2 separate regions of the Homo sapiens genome follow, and region 1 is linked to region 2. Evidence: promoter capture Hi-C in 16 types of primary human blood cells and fetal thymus (Javierre and others, 2016). All regions are on one chromosome and are shown on one strand. The core of a region is centred on a gene start or on the middle of the fragment in contact, and the rest is flanking DNA. Distances in the headings are between cores, read along the strand shown.

The links. Contacts are between HindIII fragments. The CHiCAGO score rates a contact against its expected background, and 5 or more counts as called.
Region 1: a fragment that was not itself captured here is called in contact with the fragment with the promoter of GANAB in region 2 in 1 of 17 cell types (total B cells); the score reaches 7.2 in total B cells.

Annotation. Positions count from the first base shown.
Region 1 is chr11:62,431,524-62,438,052 of GRCh38, forward strand. It overlaps a transcript of AHNAK not described here. Among named protein-coding and RNA genes, the nearest start is that of SCGB1A1, 16 kb to the left of the region's middle. RefSeq lists enhancers at 2,550-3,051, 3,052-3,551. The HindIII fragment of the contact is 1,261 bases long and covers 2,610-3,870 here.
Region 2 is chr11:62,643,800-62,650,110 of GRCh38, forward strand. It overlaps GANAB (glucosidase II alpha subunit), which reads right to left and starts at 2,814. Exons shown (of 24, transcript NM_198334.3): 1 at 2,763-2,814. The coding sequence starts at 2,800. INTS5 (integrator complex subunit 5) reads right to left here. Exons shown (of 2, transcript NM_030628.2): 2 at 3,049-6,200. The coding sequence ends at 3,221. RefSeq lists enhancers at 1,013-1,820, 2,136-2,295 and a silencer at 2,906-2,985. The HindIII fragment of the contact is 15,573 bases long and covers 1-6,311 here.

The sequences.
Region 1 (6,529 bases), core at 1,990-4,489, 210 kb before region 2:
CCCTACCCAGCACTTTGTGCCCTGAGGTTCAGGGGCTCTTTCTGCTGCTGAGCTTCCACGCCCCTAATCTGGGGCATGTATTTACAGTGGGATAAATCATGTATTTATCTTACTATAGCATGTTTGCTTCTAACTGTTGCCTTCTCTAGAATGTGAGTCCTATGAAGGCATGATTCACATTTTAGTTATCTTGCCACTCATTGTAGAAAAATTAGAAAACCCAAGAAAGCAAAAGGAAAATAAATCATTCGAATGTACATCTGCGTCAAGTACTTGATCAGAGCAGCAGGATTCTACTTTTGACCCTCTAGTGGAAAAATTGAAACCAAGGTGGAAGCCAAGACAGTAAATTAAGTATATTACAGGACTCGAGACCTTTTTTTTTTTTTTTTTGAGACGGAGTCTCACTTTGTTGCCATGCTGGAGTGCAGAGGTGCCATCCTGGCTCACTGCAATCTCCACCTCCCGGTTCAAGTGATTCTCCTGCCTCAGCCTCCCAAGTAGCAGGGACTACAGGCGCATGCATGCCACCATGCCCAGCTAATTTTTGTATTTTTAGTAGAGACAGGGTTTCACCATATTGGCCAGGATGGTCTCGATCTCTTGACCTCATGATCTGCCCGCCTTGGCCTCCCGACCTTTTTATTCCATCTCTCTGCTTCCAGGAGGACCATATCAATAACCAAGTGGCCCCTGAGACATGACCCTAAACCCCCAAAAAGACCTCCCATTACTCTGTGGCTGACCCATTTGAGGAATTCATATGTTCTGTGGGCAGGAAGTTCTAACCAAAATGCAAAAAAAGTTTGAAGTTCATCGTATTCCGTTGTTCCCTGCTTTTCTGTTTCTAGGTAAAGATGAGATTAGTTGGCCAGGCACGGTGGCTCACCCCTGTAATCCCAGCACTTTGGGAGACTGAGGCAGGTGGATCACCTGAGGTCAGGAGTTTGAGACCCACCTGACCAACATGGAGAAACCCCATCTCCACTAAAAATACAAAAATTAGCTGGGCGTGGTGGCGGGTGTCTGTAATCCCAGCTACTTGGGAGGCTGAGGCAGAAGAATCGCTTGAACCCAGGAGGCAGATGTTGCAGGGAGCCGAGATCACGCCATTGCACTCCAGCCTGGGCAACAAGAGCAAAACTCTGTCTCAAAAAAAAAAGAAAAAAAAAAGATGAGACTCGTTTATGAAACTGGATTCCTCTTAAACCACAAATCCATCTGAATGGTATTCATTTCATGCTTGATAAATTTCAAGACCTGATTATTTTGCAATATCAATGTTGATAAAAGTTAAATATTAACCAGATAATCGAAAGTTATCCTTTAACGTCTGCTACCATAGAATAAGAATTTCAGACTGACCCCCAGTGACAGGAAACTTTGAAAAGGCGTGTGCCTGAAGAAACGTATCGATTGGCATGTTAAAAAATACATGTATTGGCCGGGCATGGTGGCTCATCCCTGTAATCCCTGCACTTTGGGAGGCCGAGGCAGGTGGATCACTTGAGGTCAGGAGTTTGAGACCAGCCTGGCCAATGTGGTGAAATCCCGTCTGTACTAAAAAAAAAAAAAAAAAAAAAAAATACAAAAATTAGCCAGGCGTGGTGGCAGGCCTGTAATCCCAGCTACTGAGGCCGAGGCACGAGAATCACTTGAACTCAGGAGGTGGAGGTTATAGTGAACTGAGATCATACTACTGCACTCTCCAGACTGGGTGACAGAGTGAGACACTGTCTCAAAAAAAAAAAGATTACATTTCTCCTTTTTTAGATAAATAAAGAGGAAAGAGAAAGGGGAGGGGGAGCAAGGGGTGTAAGAGGGAGAAAGAAAAGAGAGAAAGGAGAGAACGCGCGGGGGTTCTCGGTCATGTGGAGGCAGCAGTCATGTGCTGACTCTGAAAACTGAAAAAAAAAAAAAAATAGTGACAGCAAGCTGCTGCCTGTGGCCAACTCTCCCAGGGATTCTCACAACGCCAGGGAAGGGAACAGAGAAAACCACAAAGGTTGACACAAGAACAGATGCTTGATAAATGTTTATTGGATAAACGAGCGAAGGATAATCACCTGAGCACCATAGTTGCCAAAGCCCCCTCTAGTCCCAAACCTAAGCCCACACTCTGTCCCCTTGCAAGTAAAGAAATGCACCAAGCAGGGCTTATGCAGCAGCCCTCGGTCTGGCCTGGCTGGAGCTATAAACATGCATGCTCCGAAAAGCCGCCTCGCGGAAGGTATTCCTTTAACTGCAGGTGTTTGTTGCCCTTGGCACAGCAATATGTAATTTCCCATTTTTAGAACAATGCTCCAAAGAACGGTCACAAAAACAACCTTAAGAGGGGGTGGTTTTCTTCCTGGCCGCTTCTACAGTCCTGTAAAACAACAACAAAGAGATTTATATTCAACACACTATTTGCATCTCTCCATAAAATCAGAAGATGGTTCGTTAACTTTGCACCAACTGAAAGAAGGTCCCCCCACTCCTTGCTAGGGCATCCAAACAAATGCTTGCCTCTGGAAGGGATAGATTTGGAAAGGATCCTGCTGTTGGGTCTCTTTTGGTCTTGCCACGCCTCCCTCTGTGTGGTTTCTGTGCGGCAAGGGTGGAAAGGAAGCTTGCATAAAGCCCGAGTCTGTCCTTTTGGTGCCCCCCATACAAGCCCGAGACCAGAAGAGGACAGTGTGTTCCCAAGAACATTCAAATAACAGAGGAAGGTAGGAACCGTGAAAACAGCTGCCACCTCCAGCCTCAGCCATTAAGAAATCCCTTTCATTATCATCTCCAAACTGACTTTCTCTCTTCCCTTTCCTCTTCATGAACCCTTTCTGCTTCATGAACCCAAGCAACTGGCTTTGAGACTTCATGGCCCTTCACCTTCCCTCCCTGTCGTCTCCCAGAGCCTAACTACTACATCTTCTGTCCCAGCCCAGTGCCTCCTCCCCGAGTCACACCCAACTCATCCCCATCGGACTCCCATGAATGCGCAGGTTGTCCTCTCATGGGCCTCCTGGCCTGGTCTCTCTCACCTCCCACGTGGGCCTGCATGCCCCAGGCTTCATCTTACACCTCCTGCGCTCAAGAAAGTTCAGCAACTCCTTTTCCAACAGAAACAAATCCAGCTTTCGGGCCAGGCGCAGTGGCTCACGCCTGTAATCCCAGCACTTTGGGAGGCCGAGGCAGGCGGACCTCCTAAGGTCAGGAGTTCAAGACCAGGCTGACCAACATGGTGAAACCCTGCCTCTACTAAAAAGAAATACAAAAATTAGCCGGGTGTGGTGGCACACACTGTAATCCCAGCTACTCAGGAAACTAAGGCAGAAGAATCACTTGAATCCGGGAGGCAGAGGTTGCACAGTGATCCAAGATCCTGTCACTGCACTTCAGCCTGGACAACATGGCAAGACCCTGTCTCAAAAAAAAAAAAAAAAAAAAAAGCCAGCTTTCTTAATGGGACCTCATCTGGAACCAGGCCTCCTTTCCTACTTTATCTTCTACTAGTCCCTACACAAGTTTCAAGCACCAACCAAAATCACCTGCTCACCCTTCCCAAACTTTACCTTGGCTCCTAAAAACTACCTCCTGCCCTCCCCCTAATTGAGAATGACCTTCCTGGTCTTCTCTCTGTGACTAAATCCTACCCATTTTTGAAGACTCAGCCAAATAATACCACCATCTGACCACTCTAGTTCAAAATGCCCCCCTTTCCTTGCTGAAGTCCTGCAATTCTGCCCCATTTATTCACTATATGTTACACTTTGTGAAGAAACCATTCACATAACTTCTTTCTTCCAAATGTGTGTTGAATTATTTAGAGGGCAAAGGTGCTAAGCCTCTTTAAGAGGCTTGGAAGGAATTAGGCACCAGGAAAGTGAAAGCTTTATTTATTTATTTATCTTTTTTTTTTCTTTTTGAGACGGAGTCTCGCTGTTGCCCAGGCTGGAATGCAGTGGCGCGATCTTGGCTCACTGCAGGCTCCGCCCCCCGGGGTTCCCGCCATTCTCCTGCCTCAGCCTCCCGAGTAGCTGGGGACTACAGGCGCCCGTCACCTCGCCCGGCTAATTTTTTTGTATTTTTAGTACAGACGGGGTTTCACCGTGTTAGACAGGATGGTCTCGATCTCCTGACCTCGTGATCCGCCCACCTCGGCCTCCCAAAGTGCTGGGATTACAGGCTTGAGCCACCGCACCCGGCCTATTTATTTATCTTTTTAAGAGATGGGGTCTTACTATATTGCTCAGGCTGGCCTTGAACTCCTGGACTCAAGCAATCCTCCTGCCTTGACCTCCCAAAGTGCTGGGATTGCAGGCTGGCCGCACCCAGCCAGTTTTGACATTTCTACACTACCTTTTATTGCACACTTGCTATGAACCTGTCGCTGAGCTGAGCACTTCTTACATATGACCGCATTTAACTCTCACAGTGAGACTAGAAGGGAAGTACCACTGTCACTTTTCACAGACCAGGAAACAAAGGCTTTGAGAAGTTAAATAACTACCCAAGAGCCTCACTGTTTAAAAGGAGCAGAGCTGGAGTTCAAGCCTGGCTCACAGTATTGACAGCTCTAGCCCATCCCCTTTCATTCTCAGCGAATTCACAACACAGAACAGTTAGGATGAACAGGGTGGGGAGGAAGTTGCAGGCTCTTTTCCTGATTGGAACAAATTCATGGAAAGGGTTCATAAAGGGGCTGGGCTTCCCAATTCATGTTTTTGTTTTGAAGAAGGTGGGGGAACTTGGGGTTCACACAATGAAGTTCTCTTTAAAGAATGGTGTCTGCAACATCTGATGCTCCGGGGGAGTAGCAGGCAACACAGAGAGCTTTGATGCTGTACCAAGATTCACTCTCAACATCCCAAGCCAAGTGGCAACAGTGCAGAATATGGCATTCAAGTCTAACTCCCACACTTACCAGCTGTGATACTCAGACAAGCTATTGTCCCTCTCTAAGCTTCAGTTTCCTCCTCTCTAACAAGAAAAGAATATCATTTTGACAGGTGGTTTGGATAGATTAAGGCAAATAATCTCTATAAAGCAACCAGGCACATATTGGGTGCTCCATAAATTATTATTGTTATTACTTCTCTTGGACATGAAAATCTGCATTTCTTTTCATTAAAAAAAAAAAAAAAGTATAGGCCGGGCGCAGTGGCTCACGCCTGTAATCCCAGCACTTTGGGAGGCCAAGGTGGGTGGATCACGAGGTCAGGAGATCGAGACCATCCTGGCTAACACGGTGAAACCCAGTCTCTACCAAAAATACAAAAAAAAATTAGCCGGGCATGGTGGCGGGCGCCTGTAGTCCCAGCTACTCGGGAAACTGAGGCAGGAGAATGGCGTGAACCCAGGAGGCGGAGCTTGCAGTGAGCCAAGATCGCGCCACTGCACTCCAGCCTGGGTGACTGAGCAAGACTCTGTCTCAAAAAAAAAAAAAGAAGTATAACATACATTCATCAGAGTACATAAAGCACACAATGGACAGCTTGATAATCATTTTCATAAATAGGCATTTCTATAACCACCACTCCAGGCCACATAAGGAATATTTCCAGCACCCCAAAACGTTCCCTCATGCACCCTCCCAATCCATATCCCCACCAGACAGAATCATGATTTGACTCATTATAGATCAGCTTTGCCTCTTTCTGAACCATATATTAATGGAATCAGAGCATATAATCTTTTCATCATTGCATAGTACTCTTATATGAATAGATCACCAATTTATTTCTCCAATCTTCTGTTGATGGGAATTTGGGGTGTTTCAGGTTTGGAGAAACTTCTTTGAACATTTTTGTACATACATTATTGTCAGCATAGGCACTCAAACCCCTCAGCTTTGTTTTGTTTTGTTTTGAGACGGAGTCTCACTCTGTCTGCCAGGCTGGAGTGCAATGGTGCAATCTCAGCCACTGCAACATCTGCCTCCTGGGTTCAAGTGATTCTCCTGCCTCAGCCTCCTGAGTACCTAGGATTACAGGCACTCATCTGCCACACTCAGCTAATTTTTTTTGTATTTTTAGTAGAGACGGGGTTTCACCATATTGGCAAGGCTGGTCTCGAACTCCTGACCTCAGGTTATCCACCCACCTTGGCCTCCCAAAGTGCTGGGATTACAGGTGTGAACCACCACGCCCAGCCCAAATCCCTTACCCAAATACTTAGGAGTAGAATTTCTGGGTTGTACAGCAGGCATATCTATAGCTTTAATATAATCTGCCAAACAATGTTCCCAGTGGCTGTACCTCTTCCACACTCCCCACAGCAATATGCAATAGTTCTAGTTGTTCCATATTCTCAGCAACACTTGGTATTGTCAGTCTTTTCATTTTAGCTATTATGGTGGGTGTGTAGTAGTATCTTTTTGTGGGAGTTTTGTGTGTCTATGTTGTTCTTTTTTTTTCTTTTGCATTCTGTCACCAAGGCCAGAGTGCAGTGGCATGATCATAGCTCACTGCAGCCTCAAACTCCTAGGCTCAAATGATCCTCCCACCTCAGTCTCCCAAATAACTGGGACTACAGGCTTGTGCCACCA
Region 2 (6,311 bases), core at 1,564-4,063:
AGTGTGACTCTGTCTCAAAAACAAGAAAAAAAAGTTGCCCAGGCTTGTCTTGAACTTCTAGGCTAAAGCCATCTTTCCACCTTGGCCTTCCAAAATGCTGGAATTACAGGCGTGAGCCACTGCACCCACCCTGGATACCGCATTTTATTTTTAATTTTTTTTGAAACTGAGTTTCACTCTTGTTGCCCATGCTGGAGTGCAATGGCACGATCTTGGCTCACCGCAACCTCTGCCTCGCGGGTTCAAGCAATTCTCCTGCCTCTGCCTCCCAAGTAGCTGGGATTACAGGCGCGTGCCACCACACTCGGCTAATTTTGTATTTTTAGTAGAGACGGGGTTTCTCTGTGTTGGTCAGGCTGGTCTCGAACTCCCAACCTCAGGTGATTCGCCAGCCTCGGCCTCCCAAAGTGCTGGGATTACAGGTGTGAGCCATCGTGCCCGGCTGACACCACATTTTAAACATGCTCTCCCAGTGACACTGATATGGGCAGAATACGAGCATACTCTGAGAAAGTGTTTCAAACTGGGGGTGGGAGGGTTCTTCTAAGCAATAAAGTTTTACAACCAGCCAGGCACAGTGGCTCACGTCTATAATCCTAGCACTTTGGGAGGTCAAAAAGGGAAGATTGGGCAACACAGCAAGACCTCGTCTCTACTTAAAAAAAAAAAAGAGTAGCAAGGCATGGTGGCAGGTGCCTGTAGTCCCAGCTAATCAGGAGGCTGAAGCCGGAGGACTGCCTGAACGCAAGAGTTTGAGGCTGCATGAGCTACGATTGCACCACTGCTCTCCAGCCTGGGCCACAGCACAAGACTCTGTCTCAAAAAAGTAAATTAATTAAGACTGGTCAATGGGGTGTCTACTAAAAATACAAAAATTAGCTGGGCACGGTGGCACACGTCTGTAATCCCAGGACTCGGGAGGATGAGGCAGGAGAATCGCTTGAACTCGGGAGGTGGAAGCTGGAGTAAGCCGAGATTGCACCCCTGCACTCCATCCTAGGCAACAGAGCGAGACCCTGTTTCAATAAGTAAACAAACAAATAAATAAATAAATAAAATTTGACAACCTATAATAAGGTAACTAAAGACAGGGTCTATTATACACATTGTATCTAGTTATCTAGCATTAGCTTCAGCATCTGCTTGAAAGCTAAAAGAAAATTACCAGAAATGAGATCACAGAGTGTACTATGATCTCATCACAGGACTCTCCTCCAGCTCCAGAGGAATGTACGAAACAACTGTTCCACAGCAGGCCAGACAGAAAAATGAAGAAAACACTAGGCACTGTGGTTTAATAGGCCAAGCAGAATAAATGCTACCACAAAACTCCATAGCAAGGCATGCGGCACAGGTCCTGCAGTGAGTGACCTGAGTGACTGCAACAGGCACTCTTGGCCACTGACCCACGTCCACCTGCCAAAAGCAGCAGTAAATAGAAGTACAGTGAGTTGAGGCCGGGCGCGGTGGCTCACGCCTGTAATCCCAGCACTTTGGGAGGCCGAGGCGGGTGGATCACGAGGTCAAGAGATCGAGATCATCCTCACCAACATAGTGAAACCCCGTCTCTACTAAAAATACAAAAAAATAGCCAGGCGTGGTGGCGGGTGCCTGTAGTCCCAGCTACTCGGGAGGCTGAGGCAGGAGAATGGCGTGAACCCAGGAGGCGGAGCTTGCAGTGAGCCGAGATCTCGCCACTGCACTCCAGCCTGGGCAACAGAGCGAGACTCTGTCTCTCAAAAAAAAAAAAAAAAGACGTACAGTGAGTTAAATACCCTCTGGGGCCCTATTTGCACAGTCTGTAAAATTGGTTCGGAAAGATGCCAATGGAGATAGGATTCCTAAAGCATCTTTCAGATATGACCTGTTGGAGGGCCCTAAGGAATTCACGGCGGCCTTGACCACCCCAAGAGAGGTGTTCATAGGCCAAAGTCAGGAATAAGCTGCAGGGCAAGTTGCACGCATTTATTGTTTCAGATCACAGGCTCCGAGGGAACTGAGTTTATGATCCACGCTTTCTTCATCGCTTTGGAGAGTACACGCCTACCCCACCCCAGTATATCCGTTAGGTCCTAGTAAACATTTGTGGCACTGGTGATATGTTTCGAATCTTTTTTTTTCCCCAGTAATATAAACCCGAGAGCGTGGACCAAGCCATTCGATTACATGTTGTGTTTGAGCAACACCATCCACGCCGTGAGCTTACTGGACCCTGGGCCGTGCCCAGCGACCGTGGACACTGAACTAAGCCAGAGCTGGTGCTCACGTGAAGACAAGGGCAGAGGAGGATTCGGAGCTCTACAGGGTAGAGCCAGAAGGGTAGTACAGGCTTAACTGCTGGCCCGGTGCTTCCAGCTCAGCCGAGGGGCCGCGGGGCCGCAGGCTGCATTCCCCGAGGCCAGGCCGCATCTTTTCCCCCGCCCCGACGACCCCGCGCACTGCAGGAAGGGGGCGGCGACGTTGACCGCCGCAAGCAGCCAAAGGAGGGCGGCGGCTGAGAGCGGCCAAGACCAAGAAAGACGCACAGCTGTGGCTTTACTAAACCGCCGGGCGGGAGCCCGGAGCCCCACAGGCAAGGCCCCCAGCGTCGCTCGGATCTACCACGGGGAGACCGGAGGCGTCTGAGGCCGCCTCCAGAGGAACAAAGGTTCCTCACGAGGCCGGGGGTGGCAGAGTGTCAAGAGACACACAGGAAGGAGTGGAATGGGACTTGGGGGATCTGGGGGCGTCCCGGGCGCGCCCCCAGATTCCGGGCTCCTCACCGCCTCCTACGCGCCGCCACTGCCGCTACCGCCGCCATCTTGTGCAGAGTTTGCTCCTTGACCCCAAACCTCCCGCCCCATCGCGCGCGCTCAGCCACGTATCCTAGTTCCCGCCCCTTCCGGCCTTATGATTGGTTCGACCTGAGCGCCGCCGGGCAGCTGTCTCATTGGTAGAGTGCGCACTCCAAATTATCGCAGGGGGCGGGGCTTCAGGCCAGGGGCGGGAACGTCCAGAGCCAGGCGCTGTCAGACTTTGCACGCTCTCAGCATGACAGAAGCACTGGACTGGTTTTCTCAAGTTGGCAAATTTTATTTAGAAAAAAAAAAGTGGGAGAGAAAAAAGTGACAGCGCTCTTTAGACCAAGGACTTAGAAGAGAAACCTCCACCCTTCCGGAGCACGTTAGTCCCTTCCCTCTCTCACTGCTCAACCTCCCTGGGCTTCCAGAGCAAGAAAAGGCTACGTCCCCTGTCGAAGGAGAGTGGACGGTGAAGGTGCCTGGAAACGGCCAGAGAAAAGACCTAGGCGGTCGATGTTGCGGTGGAGGACACTGTGCAGCACAGCCAGATGGGGTCCACCCTCACCTCCACCCTCCCTGGAGAAGTCCCGAATGAAGCGACCCCGCTCTGATTGGAAGATGAACTTCTGAGGCAAGGGCCCATGCTCCCGGAGAAAACCCCAGACACTGAGCAGCAGCAGACGCACCTCGAAAGGTGCCAGTTGGCTAAATACTTCATGCATATTACCCAGGGCCGGAGGCAGGAGGCTTCCCTCAGCCATGACAGCCACTAAGGTGCAGGATGCCTCCAGGTGCCAGGGGGAGTGGGTCGTGTCAGGGTGGCGAGAGGCTTCCCAATGGCCCAAGAGGGCGGCCAGCAGCCCCCGAAGCAGCACGGAACAGTAGCACAGGGCTGGGGGTGCAGCTGCTACCAGCTTTAACAGCTCAAAGAGCAGGGGCTGTTCGCGGAAGCGCCGGCCAATGCGGAGATCCCGCTCCACGGTGGCCCGGGCGTGTTCCTCGGGGGGCCAGGCCAGCTCTGCACCAGCTGCATCGGGACACACACTCTCCACCAAGGTCACTGCCACTGCTTTGGCTGCCTCTGGACTCAAGATGGGTGCCCCCCAGCATTCCCCACATTCAGTGCCCCCTGGGGCACTGCAGCAGTGAACCAGGAGGCTGAGGAGGCTCTGGGTGTTATAGATCACTTCCTGCTGATTTCGTGACTGGACAAACTTGGGTGGCTTTAAGCCACGGCCGATGACTCCAGCATGGAAAACTGACCAAATCCCTCCAGGACCTGGCACAGCTGCAGTGTGCCTCCGGTTAGTGTCCAACAGGGAGGCAGAAGCCAAAGAAGCTGAAACAACTGAGAGAGTCTCATTGTCCCCATCTACTTGCCCACCAAACAGTTCTGTGTTGCCTCGATGTAAGGCTCCTTCAACCAGCAGCTGCAGGACAGCCTTGAGCCCAGCTGGGGATGTCTGAGACAGGCGGGTGAGAAGCTGACAGGCTGAGGCCACACCTGGGGGTCCATGCAGCCTCAGAGAGGCAAAGAAGCGGTGCACCCCAGCCCTTACCAGTCCCAGGAGCTGGGAGGGGGATAAGGCTTCAGAAGGAAAGGGACAAATGGCCAGGAGAGAGGCAGCAGCTTCAGCTACTTCCTCCTCAGGATGTAGCAGGAGAGGAGCCAGGTCAGACAGATGGGCTGAGGCAGATTCCCCAAAGTGCGCCCCTAGGGCTGCAGGGCCCTCGCCACCCTGCTGTTCCCACCCTACTAGCAGTGCCAAGTTGCGCAGGAACCGGGCCGTGAAGGGAGGCTGTAATGTCCCTGCATGCACCCGAGCCAGACAGCTTCGGAAAGCCAGGGGCAGGAGGCCAGAGAGGCTGACCACTAGCCCTGCATATAACTGGGTGGCCAAACTCAACTCTTCAGGGCTTCGGGCTCGGCTCAGCAGATGGCCCAAGGCCTCAGGTCCACAGCTAGGCCGGGTATAGACAGACAGCAGGCCCAAGAGCTGGTGCTGCCAGAGGAAGCGCTTCCGTTCCAATCGTAACGTCTCTCCACACAGCTCTCCAACATGGTTTTTGAGCGCATCTAAAAAGGGCACCAAGCGGGGAGGTGGGGGCGGGCCTAGCACCCCTTCCCCAGGAGACCCTCCCCGGTGATGAACCAGTTTTTGCAGGTGCAGCAGCAGCAGCTGGATTAGCCGGTCACAAGCCTCACGCACGGTGTCTGGCACAGCCAGGCCCTGGGTGGTAATGACCGAAGCAGGCATAGCTGTGTCCACCAGGAACTGCAGCAAGCGGTAGGCACCTGCCCCAGAGGCCTGGCTCACCAGGTGCACAGCCAGGTTCAACATGTTGTCCAGCTCCTCTCGGGGGAATCCTTGAAGGTGTTGCTGCAGCTGGCTCAGCACAGCTGGGGGCTTGAGGCAATCCACAAGCTCTCCAGAGACAGTGCCCAGCAAAGCTGGTGACATGACTGCCAGCTGCAGTAGGAACGGAACCGTGGCCTGAAGGGAGGGGTCCCCACTGCGGCCTCCAGATCCCCCTGCCAGGCTATCATGGAACATTCGCAGGAGCTCCCGTCGGATGCTATCTCCGTGGCGGGAGGCCAGGTGACCTAGGATGCCTACAACTGAGGCAATCTTGGGCACCCGTTTCTCCGCAGGAATGGCAGGAGATCCAGGGAAGGGGTCTGTAGAGGGGGTCTGAGAAGAGCTTCCACCACTACTGCCAGCTCCACCTCCAGCCCCACCATGGACACAAAAGTCCTTAAGGCCACAGGAGAGAACCCGGGAAATGATGGTGCCAGGAAAAGAGGAGCCAATATGTGCCACAACCCAGTCAAAGTGTGGAGAATGCTGAACAGAGGTATCCAGCAAGGCATCCACACACGCATCTGGGCAGCTACCAATGAGAGCCGAGAGGCACTGCACATAGATGTCCATTAATGTACGCGTGGCCCTACAACCCATCCACAGCTGTAGCAGTTCATTAAGAGCGCCAGTAGCGTGGGGAACACGCTGGTGCTGGCCTGAGTACGTGCTGCTCAGTTGCCCCATGAGGTCAATGGACCATGCACTAATCACAGGTGCCCAGGCCTTTGGGTTGGCCCGGATAAACTCAGACAGCACCTGCTGCACTTCCTGAACCACATCCTCTAGACCAGGTCCACCAGCAGGGACATGAGAGGGTGGAGGTGGACGGAGGTGAGGTGGACCAGCCACAGGGGTTTCATCCAGGGCAGCCAGGTGGGCCCGGACACTCTCATCAAAGACACCTCTCAAGTGGTCAAGCACAGCAGCCCGAGCAGGTGGCAAAGAACGGAGCAGGAGAAGACCACAGCGAGCATGTTCCCGGGCTGAGAGTTGGTGGCCCAGAATGGGGTCTACGCCAGTCAGAAAAGCCTTGATTTCCTGGGACAGCTCCTGAGCACTACAAGGAAGCAAAAGAAACAGACTTAAGAGTGTTGTGAGATGTTAGGCAACTTACCTTTCCTGTATGAGCTTTGCCTTTTATGTTAAATAGGGATAATAAAAATACTTC